Linked DNA regions of Homo sapiens: region 1 is linked to region 2. Evidence: promoter capture Hi-C in 16 types of primary human blood cells and fetal thymus (Javierre and others, 2016). All regions are on one chromosome and are shown on one strand. Each heading gives the region's core, a stretch centred on a gene start or on the middle of the fragment in contact. The rest is flanking DNA. Distances are from core to core; before and after follow the strand shown. Region 1 overlaps GUCY2F (guanylate cyclase 2F, retinal). Region 2 holds the start of RTL9 (retrotransposon Gag like 9).

Evidence for each region. Contacts are between HindIII fragments. The CHiCAGO score rates a contact against its expected background, and 5 or more counts as called.
Region 1: a fragment that was not itself captured here is called in contact with the fragment with the promoter of RTL9 in region 2 in 1 of 17 cell types (neutrophils); the score reaches 5.5 in neutrophils.

What each region holds. Positions count from the first base shown.
Region 1 is chrX:109,475,330-109,481,541 of GRCh38, reverse strand. It overlaps GUCY2F (guanylate cyclase 2F, retinal), which reads left to right. Exons shown (of 20, transcript NM_001522.3): 2 at 5,521-6,212. The coding sequence starts at 5,606. Among named protein-coding and RNA genes, the nearest start is that of GUCY2F, 3.6 kb to the left of the region's middle. The HindIII fragment of the contact is 1,473 bases long and covers 1,806-3,278 here.
Region 2 is chrX:110,354,314-110,361,132 of GRCh38, reverse strand. RTL9 (retrotransposon Gag like 9) reads right to left here and starts at 2,285. Exons shown (of 4, transcript NM_001385449.1): 1 at 2,217-2,285. It also overlaps a transcript of AMMECR1 not described here. The HindIII fragment of the contact is 7,244 bases long and covers 1-6,112 here.

The sequences.
Region 1 (6,212 bases), core at 1,293-3,792, 880 kb after region 2:
TTTCATAGAAGTCCTCGGCTTGACAAGCTGGTATGAGGAGCCATTTCCCTCAGAGCTATTTGTCATAGTCTTTCTTTGTACATGTTTAACGAACGGTGGTTTTCTGTGTGAAGCCAGGCTTCCCATCAGATTGTAAAAACTACCTGAAATGAAATTATGCATCCCTATGCTCTAGCCGCTTTCCATGGAAGTCTGATCCCATGCAGGTGTTCACACCTGAGTAACCTAGGCAATGGCCCCAGAACAACTGTGGGCCAGTAGTATTCTATTTCCAAAATTTCATACCTTCAAACTTTGTTTTAGTTATATCCACATTTCCCATTAACCCCAGGAAAGACTTTAGTGAGCTAATTTTTTTCCTTAAACCAAAATCAGCAGGTGGAGGTTTAGGGCATCCTCCCCCTATCTTGCCCCTTTCTTTCCCTCCCTCCCTCCCTTCCTTCCTTCCTTCCTTCCTTCCTTCCTTCCTTCCTTCCTTCCTTCCTTCCTTCCTTCCTTCTTCTCTCCCTTCATTCCTCCCTCCCCTTCTTTCCTTCCTTCTTTCTCTTCTTCCCTCCTTCCCTCTCCCTTCCTCCCCCTTCCTCTTTTCCTTCCTTCTCTCTTCCTCCCTTCCTTCCTTCCTTCCCTTCTTTTTTTCTTTTTTCTTTTTTAAAGAATAAGTTTCCTTCTGTAAAATCTTGAGTTGGGGGATCAAGACTAAATCCTACAGCAACATAAAACTTTCTGGTTGTCCAGGGAGTCCTAACAGAGTTAGAAATATCACCAAATGCATCACATCGGTACCAGAAAAAATGTAAGGGCAGACCTTCAGCTTGGGAAATGTTTATCTTGCAGTTAACAAAGGGAAAAGAGCAACAAAAACTGAGAGTGAATGCCAAGGGACACTTTGTGGCATGTGGCCTGAGGAGGGACCCGTGTTGTATGAATTTTAGAAATGGTATAAAAAATCTAACTTTTTAGAATTTGGGGTGGGCATTGTGCTTAGGAGTTACCTGGATTATAACACAAAAATGCCAGCCTTACACCTAGAATGGACAGTTAATCACTTTGATCTGAGGGGCACCAAAAGTTTCTTCATTTTTTTGCTCAAAAAGTAGTCCATCCTCCTTTGCCTACCTGCAACTGATGCTTGAAATAGACATTATATTATTAGAGATTAATTATTTTGGCATAAACTTCTCCCCAGCCCTTAAGAGAGAACAAACACCACTGGTTGGGGAGGAATACAGGAAAGTGTCAAATATTATCATTCATTTACATATTAGTGCAAATCATTTAAAGAGTTTCTTTCTTTAGAGTTGTTTTCTCTCCATTAACGAGAGGGCAGAGAGAGCTGTGCTAGAAGTCTGAAGACAAACTTTACCCCTTGATAATTTTGCCAAAGGTGGGTCTTGATTAAGGCCTAAAATAGAGCATTTTAAATAACATGGTAATACAAAACATTTTATTTGTGCTCCATATCTCCTCTTCAGTATTAATTCAACATATATTTTTTGCGCACCTACTATGTGTCAGGCACTGCGAAGGGCACTGGAGATTTAATGTTAAGCAAAAGCAAGCAGGGAACTTACTAACTTGGTTTTCTCCCTCCTGAGGTACATGCTTGCTTTTCTTGTTTAGATTTCTTGGCCAGGCCCTTATACTCTCCCATTTTTTTTTTGTAGTTAGTCTTAGCACAGACCAACTTCTCAACGTGTGTTTGTTATTAATGATAATAAGATAACCAGTGATTTTAGGAGCCCAGGTTTTCAGTGTAGCATAACTCCAGCATTGTCGGGGAGTGGGGTCTTCACATCACAGAAGCTTGACAGAGGATTCCAGGCCAAAATTAAAAATGATCAGGAACTGGATCTACCAGATAGAAGCAAGTACTTTGGGGGAATCCAACTCCAGTGAGAAGCTAATTAGAGCAGCAAAGGCTAGAAAATGTTGAATGAACTCAGCAGTTTCAAAGTGCAGAGGTTTAGAAAAGTAACTGCCTAGACAAAGTACAGAATCCCAGGATGGATGGAGGTCAGAGAATAAAGGGACTTGCTGATCTGCTAGTCCAGCTAAAGGGGAAAAAGGAGAGACCTAGAGTAGGCAACAATCTGTTCAGGTCACATGGTGAGTTGGTGCAGAATTGGGTCCAGGACCCTGGCCTTCTGATTCCCAGTGCAGTCCTCTTTCCAAATAGGGAGGAAGAACCAGTGTTTATTGAAAGACAACTGTGCACTTAGTATTCTAATTTATTTACTTCTTTATCTCAAAATGATTAAATTAAATTTACCCCCACTTTGCAGATGAGGAAGTTGAAAATTGGGGCTAATATGCTGAAGGGTGTACCCTCAAGATTTCCATTCTCAAAGATTAGGATTAGCTTTACATAGAATACAGTGGAACTGGTGCTCCCCACCCCCAGCTGTGCAGCACTGTGCCCTGAGTGAGGAGTCAGTGGGCAGTCCCAGGGCTAGGCTTGAACACTAGTAGCAAATTACTTCTGGTTGGATAATGAATTTCTTGGTGGCTCCTCCCAATTTACTCTGCCCCTCCCCAACTCTACCTAATTTATTCTTTCATGGGTGACTGGGGAACTTCTTTAAACTGCAAATGAATGATTCGAACTCAGTTTGAGTAACATAGCAGGTATAATAATGGTAGTCTCATTGACTTCATAGATGAGGGGCTATCTGCAGAACTTCTATCTAGCACAGGGCTCAATCAACTGGGGTGCAAATCTCCATTCTACCGTGGTTTGCCCTTAGGCAAGTTACTTACCCTTTCTGAGCCTCAGTTTCATCATCTGTAAATAGTGATGATAATAACACCTACTTCAAAGGACTGTGATGAGTTTTTTAAATTCAGTTTTTAAAATGAGACAATACATGGAAAGAGTGTAGCCCAGCATTTGACACACAGCAAGAACTCAGTATATCTTAGACTTTGTTAGTCTAAGTGCTAATTTCTGGATTAAATGCACAGATACTGGGAAGGAACCCATGAAACTAGTGTGTTTGGGGAAGAAGAGGCAGTATGTCGGCTTTCTTGCCCTGTTGCTGTGAATAGGGTTTTGTTTCCCATATAGAGCTGTCCTCACTGTTGCACATTCCTAGTGGTCAAAAGAGTGAGGCCTATAAGGACAGAGAGATAATGTAGTTCAATATCCTTGTCACAATACAGACCAGAAATAGAGATCCTTCCCATATTACTCCAGATGAGTGGCTCCTACAGTGTCCTGCCTCCCAAATTTTGCCATGGCAGAGAAAAGAGGGAGGCTGGAAGAAGCTGGAAGAGAAGCTTGTGGCTCTTGACTAGAGCTCAGCTCTGGGTTGGGAGCTCTTTGAAGCCTGAGTCAACACCTCACACTTCATCCATCCTGTATCTCACTCTCATGCATTCAACATAGTGCACAGAATAGATCTAATTTTTTGGAGGCAGGTTAGACTGGATTATCTTTGAGGGCCTAGGAATAAATTTGAGGCTCTTATGCATATAATCAGCTCAGAATCATCTTTCCACTGTCCCCAAAGCAAAGTTAGAAGTCCTCCCCCATCCCACACACCCCTCAGCCACTGGCTTATGTTGTTTTGTGAACTGTTTGCTCCCCCAAGACTTTCTTGACTCTCATTCAAATCAGCTTTCACCAATATACGAATGTTGGGGCATACTATTTGTGGTAGGTCTTTAAGATTCACTAGATATGCCTCAGATTGGTCTCTTCAGGAGTCAAGGTTTCTCATAAAATTAGGAGTGAGAGTCAAGATAATAACCAACAGGGCTGGCACAGACAGAATTGTTGCTGCCCATAAACAACCAGTTTGGCCTGATTGGTGCACACCAGCGCTGATTATCAGCCCTGAAGAAAGCTATGCCATTATTTTGATCTTTGATTAGAATTAAGGATTTACTAAGGATTCTCCTTATTAACATCTCTGTGACCTATCTTTAAGTGTTGTGGGGTCTCAGGGTTTTGTCCTTTGTCTTCTTTCTTTACTCCACAAAAGGCATGTTTTAAATTACCCTCTATCAATTGATTACACTCAAATTTATAACTCTTATTCAGCTTTCTATTAAGAATTTATAACTCTTGTTCAGCTTTCTATTTTTTTCCTAGGCCCTCCAGTATGTGCTGTTATCTACTGGATATTGCCACTTGTTGGCCAATTCAAGATCTCTATCAGAATGCATCGTCTCTCCCACCTCCTTCCTCCAGTGTTTCCTATCTCAGAGACTTGTGCCATTTTCCAATCAGTTTCCTAGGTCTGAAAAGCTCAAAATCATCCTAGAGTCCTCCTTTCTTTTCACTTACCTTCTATATCTTGTCAGTCACCAAGTTCTTGTTATTTCTGTTTTCTTAATCTTGATATTTTTAATCTTGGAGGAGATGATCCCATTCCTCTAGGTCTTCACTACCACTCTCTTGGTCTGTCATCATTTCTCATATGGATTATTGTGACAGACTCCAAACTGGTCTCTTTGCCTCCAGTCTTGCTTTCTTCCAACTCATTCTCCACATTGTTGCTAGAGAGATCCTTTAAAATGGAAATCTGATAATACTATTTCCCTGCTTAAAACCATTGGGTACAGTATTCAATCATGGCATATCTTGGTGATCTGGCCCTTGCCTTGTCTGACATCACAGACTCAAGCAGAACAAATGCTTTAGAATTCTAAGAATCCATATATATATGTATACACACACACACATACATATATACACGCACATATATATATACACATATATATACACACGCACATATATACACACACACATATATATATAGTCTGTCTATCTATCTATCTATCTATCTATCTATCTATCTATCTATCTATCTATCTTTACCTCTGGGTCTTTCTGCATGTTGTTCCTTCTGTTTGGAAGGCTCTTAGCATCTTAGCACCAAACTACTCCTGCAACTTCATTCACCTGGCTAACTTTTCTTCAGTACTCAATCCAGAGAGACTGTTCTTCCTCCCTTCTCTCCTCCCCTGAAATCTGGGTTTAGGTGATCCTCTCTGTCTCTCTGTTTGGGCTACCTCAATCATAGCACTTTTTACTCTGCATTGTTATTATCTGTTTACATCTATTTCTCTCCAAGAGAGCTGTATGGGAGAGAAAAATGGACATATTGAAAACTATAATAATGATACTATGTCTAATATAATGCCAATGACTTGCCAGGCTCTGTTATAAGCACTTGCCGTGTGTTAACTCATGTAATTTTCAAAACACTGTAAGGTGGGCAGCTATTACTGAAGTTGAATAAATAGGAATTGGTGATAGATTGAATGTGGGGGAAGAGAAGGAGTCTCAGTGATTTCCAGTTTTCTGAAAGAAGCAAGTGGGCAAACAGTGGATGGATGTGCCATGTACTGAGATACGGGGTACAGGAAGAGGAGGAGTTTTGTCAGGATGGGGGAAAGAAACTTTTAGTTTGGGCACTGCCATTTTTTTTTTTTTTTTGCCATTCTTTCACAACCGATGATTTCCAGAAGCTTCAGAAATAATGTGAGTAACAAACCTTTTCCTCTGATTGACAGGCATTTGGAAACACCACCGTCTGTGTCGGGAAAGCAGAATAACTCTCCAGTATCTCGTCATTAGCTTGCTGGAAGCAGGAGGGCTATGTTCCTGGGACTCGGGCGCTTTTCTCGCCTTGTTCTCTGGTTTGCGGCTTTCAGGAAACTGCTGGGACACCATGGCCTTGCATCTGCCAAGTTCCTGTGGTGCTTGTGCCTTCTGTCTGTCATGTCCCTTCCGCAGCAGGTGTGGACACTCCCCTACAAGATAGGGGTGGTGGGCCCTTGGGCTTGTGATTCGCTGTTTTCAAAGGCCCTGCCTGAGGTTGCTGCGCGATTAGCCATTGAGCGAATCAACCGGGACCCATCTTTTGACCTGAGTTATTCTTTTGAATACGTGATTCTCAATGAAGACTGCCAGACTTCGAGGGCTCTCTCCAGTTTCATTTCCCACCACCAGATGGCCTCAGGATTTATTGGACCTACCAACCCTGGCTACTGCGAGGCAGCCTCGCTCCTGGGAAACAGCTGGGACAAAGGAATTTTCTCTTGGGCTTGTGTGAATTATGAATTAGACAATAAAATTAGCTACCCGACCTTTTCTCGGACACTCCCTTCTCCCATCCGGGTGCTTGTAACTGTCATGAAATATTTCCAGTGGGCTCATGCTGGAGTCATTTCCTCAGATGAAGACATTTGGGTGCATACAGCCA
Region 2 (6,819 bases), core at 1,036-3,535:
TGCAGCAGGTTTTGTTGGGGGTTGTGGGCAGGGGCAGTTTTGAACATGGTAAGTTGGAGATACCTATTAGGCATGCAAGTTGATATGTCCAGCAGGCAATTGGGCATAAAAGTATGGAGATACAAATTTGTGACTCATCAGCAAATAGATAGTATATTAAGCCACGAAGATCGGAGCATCACTAAGAAGATAAAGGACAGAAGATATCTTAGGCTTCAAGCCTTCCTCTACCTTTCAACTCCAGAAGTCAGTCCGTGACAAAATCCTATCAATTCTTCCTGTATAATGTCTCTCAATTCACCATTTTCCTTCCATTCCCACTGCTACCATTGTAGTCCAGGATCTCACCTTGTCTTACTTGGCTTTTACAATAGCCTCCTAACTGGTTTCCTTGCCTCCAAATGTCAACTTGAAACTCATCATCTCATTTGTCCTTCCCCTCCAAAAAAATCTTTCTACTTCTCCTGGGCTCTCTATCTTAAAGAATGGCATCACTATTCATAAGCATTTGCTTAAACTTGAAAATTTGAAATCCTCCTTGTCACCTCCCTTTCTTCTACTCTCCATTATGCAATTCTATTACCAAACCCTGACATTTTTACCTCCAAAATATAACTCAATTCTGTCCACCATTCTCTGTCTCTATTACTATCAATCTAGTTCAAGATAACATCACCTCCCACCTGGACAATGGTAATAGCCTCTTGACTACTCTTCTTCCCTCTAGTTAATCTCCCATATGAAAACCAGTGGAATCTTTCTAAAACAGTGCTATGCATATTTTGCCTACCTATTCTGTAGGTCCACAGAATAAAATTCAAAAGCCCTTCATCATTTGCCCATAACTTTTCTTTCCAATGGTATCTACTATGGCTTCTCTGGAAATTCCCCTCATTTCATCCCTGTGGGCTTGTCAGTGGTCTTTAGACCCACCATGACCACAGTGTGCCCCCAATACCTAGTGCAGACCTTCCCAAACATATTACAAGTGTCTGAGGCTATGAGATTTCTTCTCTGTCCTCAACTGAGCCCAGAGACAGTGCTGTTGAAACTCCTAGAATGCTTGCCTCTAGATGTCAAACTGCTTCCTCCATTCAGCCTAGTGTGCTTTACAAATACTATGCTTTTCTCTGCATGCCATGACACAATAAAGGTTGTGAAGGACTGCTTTAATGCACACCATTCCCAGAGTTTGGAAAGTGCTGCTCCATTCTCTTCTCTAAGTTCTAAGTACCCTTCTATGCCAAGTTCAAGTCTCACCTTTCTGATAAAGCAGTCTTTGATGCTACATATCCAACCTCAAAATTCTTGTATGATGTGACCAGACCACTCATTTGGCACTTAGTATATGTGCTGCTATTTAACTTTTTATGGTGAGACCTTATCTCTCTGTGTTGTCTGTTGCTTAAGAGCAACAATTTTTATACCGACTTTTGCACCCAGGGCCTTACCATACAGTAAGACACTCAGTATATTTTTACAATATTAATGAATAAATTAATTAATGAATAGATAGTTAAATTCCATCAGATGGTGCAATGGACAAGAACATTAGATTCAGAATCAGAGAATCTGGATTCTAGTGCACTTTGCCACTAGATGGTTGTGTGAGACTTCAGGAAAGTTGCTTGCCTTAGTTGCCTCATTCACAAAATAGGAACAATACTTCCCATTGTGACTTCCCAAGTTGAGATGGGATAATTTATGGAAAAAATATTTGGCAGATGAAAAGAGCATGTCGTTCATGAGTAATGCCAAAAGAGGCAGTGTGGAAGATAAAGAATGAGCTCAAAGAAGCTGCAGAAAACATTAGAGGGTTCATGGGTGAAAAAAAAGCCAAAGGGGTAAGGGAAATTTGCTAGCAAAGTAGACTTGCCCAGGAGTGATTGAGAAAGGATGATAAACACAGAAGAAAGAAAAATCAAGTTTCTGTTGCGAAGCAGTATAACACAGCCACTAGATCCAGACTGCCTAGGTTCAAAGCCTGGCTCTGGCACTTAACCAGCTATGTGACCTTGAACAAGTTATTTAACATCTCTGAACTTCAGTTTACTCATATGTATTATGGGGGCAATAATAATGCCTATTTCCAGGGAAGTGTTATAAGATGTAAAGGAGTTAATACTTATAAAGTACTTAGAGCAGTGCAGACCAGTGCCTAGCATATAGAGCGTTATAGAAGAACGTGTTAGATAAAATAATAATCTTCTCCTTACCAGGCAATACTCCAGTCCTCATGGCTGGCACTTTCTCCTGGGACCTGGAGCAGGGCTCACGAAAGTTCTGACTTGCTCTCCAGTGGGCACGTCTCCTTTCCACATTCCAGAGCCCAGTCCTCTGAGCTTAGCCTATCTCACTGCTCAAAGGACACTATGTTTCCCAGCCTACAAAGTTTCTTTTCAATTCTTTAGCCTTTTTCAAAACCCAATAGAGTTCCTTGTGAGAACAGATAGGAGTGAATTCCATAAGCTCCCAGAAGCAAATACAGACAGTATAATCTAATCTTTTAGAGCAATGGCTTTGTAATCAAGCAAAAGAGAGTTTGAATCAGGGCTCTGTAAATGACCAACTGAGTGACCTTGGACAAATCCAAGGTCTGAGCCTCAGCTTGCTTGTCTTCAAAATGAGGCCTCACAGGTGGTTGTCAGGATCAAATGAGAAAATGGACATGATGCATTCAGTATAGGGCCTGGCATGTGGTAAGCACTCAGAAAGTGTTAGCTCTTATCATTAATAATTCCTAGGATTATGGGTCTCGATTTTCCCAACTCTAGAATGTAATTTAATAGCACTATAGCTCTTATCCACTATTCCTCTGTCATCTCAATTTGACCCTTCCAAACTAAAAAGGTGCAAAAAAATATTCTTGGTGTGATAAGTTGACAACACTCTGCATTTTACACTCCCTTTGAGGTTTATGCCCAGTTTAAAAGAATTACAGAGAAAGAACCCGCAACTCTAAGTATGCTTCAGATTTCCATATGTCTGTAAATGCCTCAAAGACAGCAGTGGTCCTCTTAGCCTAGGGTGAACATCAAAATCACCTATTTTTATTTTTAATTTCATTAAATATAATTCTTCTGATAAAATGGCAAAGAATTTTTTTTCAAAATCCTTGCTTTTACCCTAGAAATGATACTCCTCATGAAACAAATGTCCAATGGGGAGACAGAGGGCCAGGCAAGTATATTTTGCAAAAGTTATCCAAGTCAGTCTCGTAAACACCCCTGATGTGAGAGAGGGACTGGAACATGCATTTGGAGGATGAGGCCAGGGTCTTGCCTTGAGAAAAAATCCAAGAAGGGCAAGTATAACCACTCTGCTTCCCACACAATGTGGGTATGTAGAAACATGCCCTGCACCCACAGGGAAGAGCATAGTATTTTCTCCTGCATGCATTAATCACAGAGGATTTCCCTCCTATAGTTATACAAGCATCATCCTTGACACATCAGTTGGAGAACTGTACTCAGTGAGAATACAAGATTCATCCAGCTTTGAAAATGTAACTATATCTAACAACTGGATTAAATATATTTCATGCCCAAAGATCTAATACTATTTAAAGCCTACAGCAAGGAAGAATGATTACCAAATAATTTAATTATTTTTGGTTTACACATCTGTCATCAAAGTTAATCGTTTGCTGGCAGAAACTGGCCATTTGGTCTTGACCATGATCACTAATGAGTGTGCTTGCATTTCATATCAAGGAAACAGTCTCTCAAATGGTTCTAATCAAATAAATTAAAAGCTGAAATACTTTTAAAAAAGTAAAAAGTGTAAAAAGGCACAATTTATAAGATTTATGAAGTGGTTACTTTTTCTTTTCTGATTTTATGTATATCTATCACTCAACACTTGCTGTGAAACATATTAGATACACCTACGTTACTTTGGAGGACCACCAAATATTTGATTTTCCCATGTATTTATCTAAAAATGTTATTAAATTTTCATTTAAATCTTTCAAAAATAGAGTGTTAAATTTCATGTATATGTGTGATCTATACTAATAGATCTAAGCTAATGTATACATACTCAGTTCTCATTTTTCTATTTGCAAAATTCAAACTAATGAATTAGTTTGAAGAAAGAAGAAAGAAATGAAGAATTTTGAAAAGTAATTCTCAAAATGCTTAAAAATAGATGCTAAATTCATTGAGCTACTCATTTCAATATTTTAATATAAGAATGCAAAATTTGTAATGTAGTAGTTAGGTACACAGACTTGAAAATCAGGGAGAAGTGATTCCATTTTCCTTCTGCTCTCTTGCTAACTATGCAACCTCAGGCAAGTAACTGCACTTCTCTGAGCTTTAGTTATCTCATCTGTAAAATGAGGATAATAATATTATATGTCATAAGGGATGTGGACATTAAATATGATAATACTTACAAAATATTATTATTTTTTCCTTTCAAAACTATTTTTAATTGACAAATGATAAGGTGTGTATATATATATATGGTACAATGTGATGTTTTGATCTATGTGTATATTATAGAAAGATTCAATCAAGCTAATGAACATATCTATCACCTCGCTAATTTATCATTATTTTGTGGTAAGAACATTAAAAAGCTATTCTTTTACCAATTTTGAAATACACAATATATTATTATTAACTGTGGTTACCATGTAGTGCAATACATCACTAAAAGTTATTCCTCTAGTTGGCCAGTGTGGTGGCTCACACTTGTAATCCCAGCACTTTGGGAGGCCGAGGCAGGTGGATCACCTAAGGTCAGGAGTTTGAGACCAGCCTGGCCAACATGGTGAAACCCCGTCTCCACTAAAAAAACACAAAAATCAGCTGGGTGTGGAGGTACATGCCTGTAATCCCATCTACTCTGGAGGCTGTGGCAGAAGACTCACTTGAACCCAGGAGGTGAAGGTTGCAGTGAGCCGAGATGCTGCCACTGCACTCCAGCCTGGGCAACAGAGTAGGACTCTGTCTCAAAAAAAAAAAAAAAAAAAAGGTTATGCCTCCAGTCTCACTGAAATTTTATATAATTTGATCAACATCTTCCCTTTCCCCAACCCTCCTCCTCCCCACTAACCTCTGGTAACCACCTTTCTGTTCTTTGTTTCTATGATATCCACTTTTTAAGATTTCACGTAGGAGATCACACAATATTTATCTTTCTGTGCTTGCCTTATTTCACATAGCATAGTATCTTCCAGTTCCATCCATGTTGTTTTGAATGATAGAATTTTCTTATTTTTTAAGGCTATATAGTATTCCATCGTGTATAGGTATTACATTTTCTTTATCCATTCATCTGTTGATGGACATTTGGGTTGCTTCCACATCTTGACTATTGTGAATAATACTAAAATGAACATGGGCGTGCAGATATCTCTTTGACATACTGATCTCAATTCCTTTGGATTTATACCCAGAAGTGACATTGCTGTATCATACGGTAATTCTATTTTTAGTTTTTTGAGGAACCTTTATACTGTTTTCCAAATGGTTATATGAATTCACCTTCCAATCAACAGTGTGCAAGGATTCTCTTTTCACCATATTCTCACCAACACTTATCACTCATCTTTTTGATAATGGCCATTTTAACAGATGATACCTCATTGTGGTTTTACTTTGCATTTCCCTGATGAGTATAGATGTTGAGCATTTTTTTTCACATATCTGTTGGCAATTCACAACTCTTAAGAAATGTCTATCCAAATCCTTTGCCCATGTTTTTAAATTTTTAAAAACTTTAGAGACAGGGTTTTGCTCTGTTGCCCAGGCTGAAGTGTGGTGGCACAATTACAGCTCACTGCAACCTCCAGCCTCTGGGCTCAGGTGATCCTCCCACCTCACCAACCTGAGTAGCTAGGACTATAGGTGTGCACCACCACATCCTGCTAATTAAAAAATAATTGTGTAGAGACAGGGGTCTTGCTTCATTGCCCAAGCTGGTCTTGAACTCCTGCCTTGCCCATTTTTTAATCAGGTTGTTTTCTTGTGATTGAATTGTCTGATTTCCTTATGTATTTTGGATATTAGCCCCTTGTCAGATACATGTTTCCCGGTATTTTCTACCAATCTGTGAGCTGTCCCTTCACTCTATTAATTGTTTCATCTGCTGTGCAAAAGCTTTTTAGTTTGATGCAATCTCATTTGTCTAATGTTGCTTTTGTCGCCTATGTCTGTGCTTTTGTTGCCTCTGCTTTTTCTTGTTGCCAAGAAATCATTGTCCAGACCAATGCTGTGGATCTTTTTCCCTATTTTCTTCTAGTAGTTTTACAGTTTCAGGTCGTATGTTCAAGTTTATTTATTTCGAATTGGTGAGAGATAGGGGTCTAGTTTCATTCTTCTGCATGTGGATATCCAGTTTTCCCAACACCATTTATTGAAAAGACTGTCCTTTCCCTATTGTATAGTCTTGGCACCTTTGTTGAAAGTCAATTTATCATAAATACTTGGGTTTGCTTCTAGGCTTTCTGTCATGTTCCATTGGTCAATATGTCTGTCTTTATGCAAGTATCATGCTGTTTTGATTATAATAGCTTTATTTAATATACAGTTATCTCTTGGTATCCATAAGTGATTGGTTCCAAGACGTCCCACAGATAATAAAATCCACAAATGCTCAAGTTCCTGATATAAAGTGGAATAGTATTTGTATATAACCTATGCACATCCTCGTGCCTACTTTAAATCATCTCTAGATTATTTATAATACCTAATACAATGTAAATGCTATGTAAAGAGTTCTTATACTATATTGTTTAAAGGGAATAATAACAAGAAAAAAGTATGTACATGTAAAGTACAGACACTTTTTTGGGAATATTTTTGATCC